2 separate regions of the Homo sapiens genome follow, and region 2 is linked to region 1. Evidence: promoter capture Hi-C in human tissues and cell types (Jung and others, 2019). All regions are on one chromosome and are shown on one strand. Each heading gives the region's core, a stretch centred on a gene start or on the middle of the fragment in contact. The rest is flanking DNA. Distances are from core to core; before and after follow the strand shown. Region 1 holds the start of OIP5 (Opa interacting protein 5). Region 2 overlaps RAD51 (RAD51 recombinase).

The links. The method cuts DNA at HindIII sites, captures the fragments that hold promoters and counts their contacts. A contact is called where the count stands out against the background at its distance.
Region 2: a contact is called between a fragment that was not itself captured here and the fragment with the promoter of OIP5 in region 1, in 1 of the 25 tissues and cell types used here (mesenchymal stem cells).

What each region holds. Positions count from the first base shown.
Region 1 is chr15:41,330,740-41,334,269 of GRCh38, forward strand. OIP5 (Opa interacting protein 5) reads right to left here and starts at 1,852. Exons shown (of 5, transcript NM_007280.2): 1 at 1,501-1,852; 2 at 1,176-1,242. The coding sequence starts at 1,822. NUSAP1 (nucleolar and spindle associated protein 1) reads left to right here and starts at 2,142. Exons shown (of 11, transcript NM_016359.5): 1 at 2,142-2,311. The coding sequence starts at 2,219. RefSeq lists an enhancer at 1,606-1,865. The HindIII fragment of the contact is 6,722 bases long and covers 1-3,530 here.
Region 2 is chr15:40,700,060-40,703,589 of GRCh38, forward strand. RAD51 (RAD51 recombinase) reads left to right here. Exons shown (of 10, transcript NM_002875.5): 3 at 1,005-1,142. Among named protein-coding and RNA genes, the nearest start is that of RAD51, 6.7 kb to the left of the region's middle. The HindIII fragment of the contact is 3,762 bases long and covers 1-3,530 here.

The sequences.
Region 1 (3,530 bases), core at 602-3,101:
TAAGTCTTTGAAATCCAGTGTGTATTCTGTGTTCACAGCATATCTCAATGCAGATTTAATAATATATAATAGCTACATATGACTAGTGATTACAGTATAGGACAGCACGGGTCTAGATTCATTAGCCTCCTCTCCAAGAGCACATTCAGGAACCTTCTGCCTCTGGCCCCAGAATACACCCAATTCCAAGCAGGCAATTGCTCCTTCTTGCTTTGTCCCCTTTGGGTGGGAAGGGGACTCCTATAGCGATAGGGAGTGTCTTTTATTCAGGAAAAAGAAAGGGAGCTGTGGGTCTAACTCCGTTTTTGAAGTTTGTCCAAGCTGCAGAAATCTTCCTGGTTACTGGACAAAGCAACTAAGAATTCCTATATTTTAACCGTAACGTTGAATCAAACTGGTCAGAATGAAATGAATTGTCTCAATGTTAAAGCCAAAACTCAAAATTGAGGAGCCTTGCAATACCAAATTCACTGACTACTTTATTGTCACTTGTAAATCATAGTACAGGCAGGTCGCAAAGTTTACCAGGCAGTATTCAAGTACATAACATTCTAGTTGTGTTTTTCTCCAGTTTCTGGGGTTACTGAAGAATTAGCCCTGGCATAGCTTATTACAAACTAACCATAATCGCAAACTTAAAAGTTCTAATATCAAGCGTGGGCAACATACTAAGGCCTCTACAAAAAATTTAAAAATTAGCCGGGAGTGGTGCTGTGTGCCTGTAGTCCCAGCTACTCCGGAGGGTGAGGTTGGGAGGATAGCTTGAGCCAGGAAGGTAGGGGCTGTAGTGAGCTATGAGCGCACCAGTGCACTCCAGCCTGGGCGAGAGCAAGACCCTGTATCAAAAAGTTCTAATATCTAAAAGGATTGTAGTTTATAGTATGTTATTCTCACTGTAAACCAAAAGGTTATTTTTTTCTTTTGTCCACTACTAGATACATCTTTCTTAGCCTCACTTCACTTGTACAAGCCACCTGGGAGAAGTGGCCCTCAGGAAGATCCTAAAACCAATACACAAATACAACTTTTTCATTTCATTAATACATCAAGTTCATATAAGAGTCAAACAGGTAAAAGCAGCATCCCAAACTGTTTTCTCCTCGTACATGTCAGTTCCACGATCCTCAGTCTCATAAAGTCAGGGACTAGAGACCAATGTAATTATCAATACGTACCTGCCTTTGAGTGAACCTTCAATGCCAACTAGGAAGGGCGCTTCCAAAACGACGTTATTTGTAACTCCTAGGAAGACAAACACGGGTCAGAACCCATACTCTGCGGGCCTTGAAATGGAAAATCTCTCCTCTAGACAGACTCATCCTGGCCGTAAATATCAGGAGACTCCCCGATTCCCTGCCCCATCCCCAGGCCAAGGAGTTATTTGCTTCCAACTTTTCATCCCGTTTTCTTCCCCAGGTGGTTCTCCGCCACCCGGTGGAGAAAGCGGGAACACCCTCTCGGGCTAGCCTCTGCCTTTCCCGAACGCTTCACTGCACTCACTGGAGAAGACCACGGCCCCGAGGGACCGCGACAGGTCCCAGGCGAGGTGCACCGAGTCGGCGAGCACTGCGTGACACTGTGCGCACTGGAACACAGCGCACCTCTCAGGCTGCAGCCAAGACGGCAGCTGCGGGCCGGCGGCTGGCTCCTCAGCCCCCAGCCCTGCGGGGCCGAGCGGCGAGGACCCCTTCACCACCTGCGTATCCCACTCCATGGAGGTCGTAAAAGAAGCTTGGTCAATCGCCCTCTCAGTGCCACCACAAAAGTCCCCCCGGGGCGGCGTTGCACAACGTGAGCGATGCCGCAGCGGCTGAGCCGCCATCTTCCCGCAGCCGGCGCCTTCCTTTCGAATACACGCCAGGCCCCGCCCCAAGCACAGCTCCTGCGTCCTCATTGGACATCATGGGCAATCCAAGCACTGGAGTCCGAGTCCGCGCACTCGTTACCTGAACAGGCGTTACAGGCCCTTTGGCGCCTGCGTATTCGTGAAGTGTGAAAAAAGCGCGCCTCTGTTGGGACGGGAAATCAGCCTTTCTATTGGTCAGGGTTAGAAACCCCGCCTTTGAGGCATTTTCAACCAATGGAAGCGCGGCATTCTTCATTTAAACTGTCTATAAATTTCTGCCTAGTCAAAGTTAAGAGTGGCGCCAGGGATTTGAACCGCGCTGACGAAGTTTGGTGATCCATCTTCCGAGTATCGCCGGGATTTCGAATCGCGATGATCATCCCCTCTCTAGAGGAGCTGGACTCCCTCAAGTACAGTGACCTGCAGAACTTAGCCAAGAGTCTGGGTCTCCGGGCCAACCTGAGGGTACGGCGCTGGCGGTGCGGGTCCCTGGGCGGGCGCGGCGGGAATAGCGGCCTCGGGGAGATGCGGTGCGAAGGGACCGAGAGGGAAGCCCGGGACTGAGGCAGCTCTCCCTGCCCCTCGGGCAGTAGATGTGGTTCACGGTAGTCCCAGTTAGAACTCTGATAAACGGAAGAGGAACTGTAGTTTTCACCTCATTTTGAAGCTGGCTTGTCTGGGTGCTCACATGATAAGCTCTATTCCGAGGGATGGTTTATTGTTTTTTGTTTTGTTTTGTTTTGAAATTACTGTATACCTCTCAGGGCGTCGATTACGAAACTCAGGCCCAGAAAGCACAAGGGGTGTCGTTAATCGTTAGACAATTAAGTAAATAATTGGCTCAGCTTCTGGAAAACCCCAAACAGACTCCAGTGATTTGTAATATTGCCGATAATCTCTTGATACTTTATTGATGGACCTGTCAGAAAAAAAAAATCGACTTTTAGGGGAGCACCTCCTTGGGTAAATTTTTATTGATGACTGTTGGGTTGATGGTCTCTATCAAAACCAGTAAGGTCTTTGACTCCGAGGCTACAAGATGTTTGGAGAGTTGGCCCGGCGCTGTGGCTCACGCCTGTAATCCCAGCACTTTGGGAGGTCGAGGCAGGCGGATCACCTGAGGTCAGGAGTTCGAGACCAGCCTGGCCCTTAAAAAATTAGCCGGGCGTGGTGGCACACGCCTGTGATCCAAGCTTTTTGCCTGTGATCCCAGCTACTTGGGAGGCTGAGGCAGAAGAATCGCTTGAACCTGGGAAGCCGAGGTGGCAGTGAGCCAAGATCGCACCACTGCACTCCAACTTCGGTGACAGAGAGAGACTCAGTCTCAAACAAAACAAAAACAAACAAAAAACCCAAGATGTTAGAAGAAGATTTGGGGATTTAATGTAGGATAGCGGTTTTATATATTTTGTTAATAGTTGAGACTTCCCACATAATACTGCTATATACTCTGGAGGTTTCTCCTGCAGGCTGTGATACTGACAGTGAGTAAATGCTTAAATCAATCGTCACAATTTTTTTTTTATTTGTTTGTTTGTTTGTTTTTTCTTTGAGACGGAGTCTTGCTCTGTCGCCCAGGCTGGAGTGCAGTGGCGCCATCTCGGCTCACCGCAACCTCCGCCTCCTGGGTTCAAGCGATTCTCCTGCCTCAGCCTCCTGAGTAGCTGGGATTACAGGCGCGTGT
Region 2 (3,530 bases), core at 495-2,994, 630 kb before region 1:
GAGCATCCTTATACTCAAACATGCATATTGCTTAAATATTAATAGCAGACATGGCTTATGTTGGCAAACTAATCTCTCCCCTCTTCTAAATTCTCCCAACCCCTGAATGCACCCACATTCACCTACTAACTCATGTTTTCCCAGAAGTCATGGTTTTGGTGGCTAATGAAACCAAAGCTGACTTGAATATAGGAAGAAAGAGGTGTCTTTGGGTGGTTTGTTTTGAGAAGAGGTATAAAAGTCCCTGACAAAAAGTAGTTTTCCTCACTGTTAATGTCAGTTGTTAGAGCAGAGCTTTCTGGTCATTGTTCAACAAAAAGTATTGACAGGCCAAGATAGTGCTCTTTATATTCTGAGCAGCCTTATCTATTTACCCTACCATAGTGTAAAAATACAGTTTTTTATGTGTGCTTGATGTGGAAAGTGTTGAGCAACACTGTCTTAAAGTGGTCTTGTAGGGCCCAAGGTCTCAGAGATCATTTAGGGTCACAAAAAAAGGTTGGGAGTTACTTTTTAATTCCAATTGCTAATAGGAGTTCTTTTTAATGTACATGGCTTAGTGCTAGTTTAAAATTATTGATTTTGATAATGAAAAGGTTGTTAATTTGTTATTAAGTACCTCATATATAGGGCTCATTTTTCAGCTTTTGCATATAATAACAGTAGGCTCTCTGTATCTCCGGATTCTGTATCAGCAAATTCAACAAACTACGTATCAAAAATTCAATCAACTACATATCAAAAAAAAGTATACAGGAGGATGTACATAGGTTATATGCAGGTAATACGCCATTTTATATAAGGGACTTGAGCATTGTTGGATTTTGTTATCTGCTGGGGGTCCTGGAACCAACTTCCCATCTCCCCCCGCCCCCCCAAGGATTTCAAGGGACAGTTGTATTACAAGTCTTCAAGCACCTCTGTGAAGTATGTAGGACACATAACATCTGTGTTAGATTAGAGAACTAAAGCTTAAATTTATCCATGGTTTTCTTCATTTGCAGCAGTGTGGCATAAATGCCAACGATGTGAAGAAATTGGAAGAAGCTGGATTCCATACTGTGGAGGCTGTTGCCTATGCGCCAAAGAAGGAGCTAATAAATATTAAGGGAATTAGTGAAGCCAAAGCTGATAAAATTCTGGTAAGTACTGCTTACTTAACCTAGGGAGGCATTAGTGGGAATAGTACAAAAGGGAATGTAGTGAAAGACTTCTTCCTTCTATCTCTTATTCTTCGGTCATCTCATTATCCTTTCCAGGGGTGACTGTTACCTGTTTCTTTTCTTCTTTTCTTTTCTTTTCTTTTTTTTTTCTTTCTTTTTTTTTTTTTTTGGAGACGGGTTCTCGCTCTGTCACACAGGGTGGAGTGCAGTGGTGCCATCTCAGCTCACTGCAACCTTCACCTCCCAAGCTCAAGCGATCCTCTCACCTCAGCCTCCCAAGTAGCTGGGACTACACTACAGGCACATGCCACCATGCCGGGGTAGTCTCGAACTCCTGAGCTCAGGCGATTCACCTACCTCAGCCTCCCAAAGTGCTGGATTATAGGTGTGAGCTACTGTGCCTGGCCTATTTATTTTTCTAGCTTCATATAGTTCTTTAACATACATACTTCCCCATGGTTACATTTTGTTTTATGAACCTATTTCTTCAGTGTTTATATAGTTACACAGTTTTATTGCCTTTACCCTTGAAGTTTTATGTAGTATAAAGCAGATTTTTTTTTTTTTTTTTTTTTTTTTTGAGACGGAGTCTCGCTCTGTTGCCAGGCTGGAGTGCAATAGCGTGATCTTGGTCTACTGCACCCTCCGCCTCTCAGGTTCAAGTGATTCTCCTGCCTCAGCCTCCCGAGTAGTTGGGACTACAGGTATGTGCCACCACACCCAGCTAATTTTTGTATTTTTATTAGAGACAGGGTTTCACCACGTTGGCCAGGATGGTCTCGATCTCCTGACCTTGTGATCTGCCCACCTCAGCCTCCTAAAGTGCTGGGATTACAGGTGTGAGCCACCGCGCCCCACCGCAAATATTTATTTATAAAATTGTATTTTCACGTATCGATTACTGTTAGCGTTAGATAAATTTATTGGATTACTCAAATGAATATTTGCTGAAGTGGTTGCTTAATTGGAAATAAGGGTTCTGAGTCCCTAACAGTATTTTTGTTAAAAGATTGTCATATTGACTAAGCCAGTAGGGGTCCCTAAAGTCTTTCTGTTTTCGCTTTTTGGGTATCAGTTTTTGTGAATGAACAAATGCTGACAGGATCTTTTCTTTTTGCCTTGCGAGATCTTGGTTTCAGAAATCAAGTCACTTCTCTGTTTCTATGAACACAACAATGCAAACCTAGAATACATGATTTGAGATGCAATATGGTATAGACTTACGTGTCTTTACTTTTCAATATTTTATGTTCTTTGTTTCTGGCCAGTAAAGATTATGATTGTATTGTTTGTTTTCTGTTTTTTTTTGAGGCAGAGTGTCGCTGTGTCACCCAGGCTGGAGCACAATGGTGCAATTTTGGCTCTGCTCACTGCAACCTCTGCCTTCCGGGTTCAAGTGATTGTCGTGCCTCAGCCTCCCAAGTAGCTGGGATTACAGGCTCCCACCACCACACGTGGCTAATTTTTGTATTTTCAGTTGAGACGGGGTTTCACCATGTTGCCCAGGCTGGTCTCAAACTCCTGGCCTCAAGCAATCTGCCCACCTCAGCCTCCCAAAGTGCTGAAATTACAGGCACTAGCCACTGTGCCCACCTTTTTTTTTTTTTTTTAAAGAAAAAAAAGAAAAGTCTCACTCTGTTGCCCAGGCTGGAGTGCAGTGGCATGATCAAAGCTCACTGCAGCTTCAGCTTCAAACTCCTGGGCTCAAGGAATTCTCAGCCTGCTGAGTAGCTGGGACTATAGGCACATGCCACTAGCCTGACCATTTCTACCAGTTTTGTCTTTGCTAATACATTCTCCTGTTTTTCACCAAAGGAAGTAGTCTATATTCCTTGAGCTCCCATGGCTTGTTAGTACTTCTCATATTACCCATCACATCTACTTGTACTATAGTTATTTTGTATAGTTTATCTTTCTGATTAAGTTATAAGCTCTGTGGAGGCAGGAATCAGCTCTTCTTTTTCTCCATATCCTTCAGAGTCCCTGGGACTATGTTTCATACGAAGTAAGTGTCTAGTACATGTTTGTTGCACTGAAATGACAGTGAGTATATGAATTGGCCAGGCTGGTCTCAAAATCCTGGCCTCAGGTAATCCGCCCATCTCAGTATCCCAAAGTGCTGGGATTACAGGCGTGAGCCACTGCACCTGGCCGTGCAATGAATTTTTAAATGAAATATTAAGTATATAGAAAAGTTTAGAGAATAAACTTTCATTGATTTTTCAGCTATTTGTTGATTTTTTTTCTTCATGGGAAATTTAAACATTATGAAAGTTTAATCTTTTTACTTTCTATGGGTCTATTTAGATTTTCTTCTTGAGTGAGTTTTGGTAGTTTATCTTTCTAAGAATTTGCTTATTTCATCTA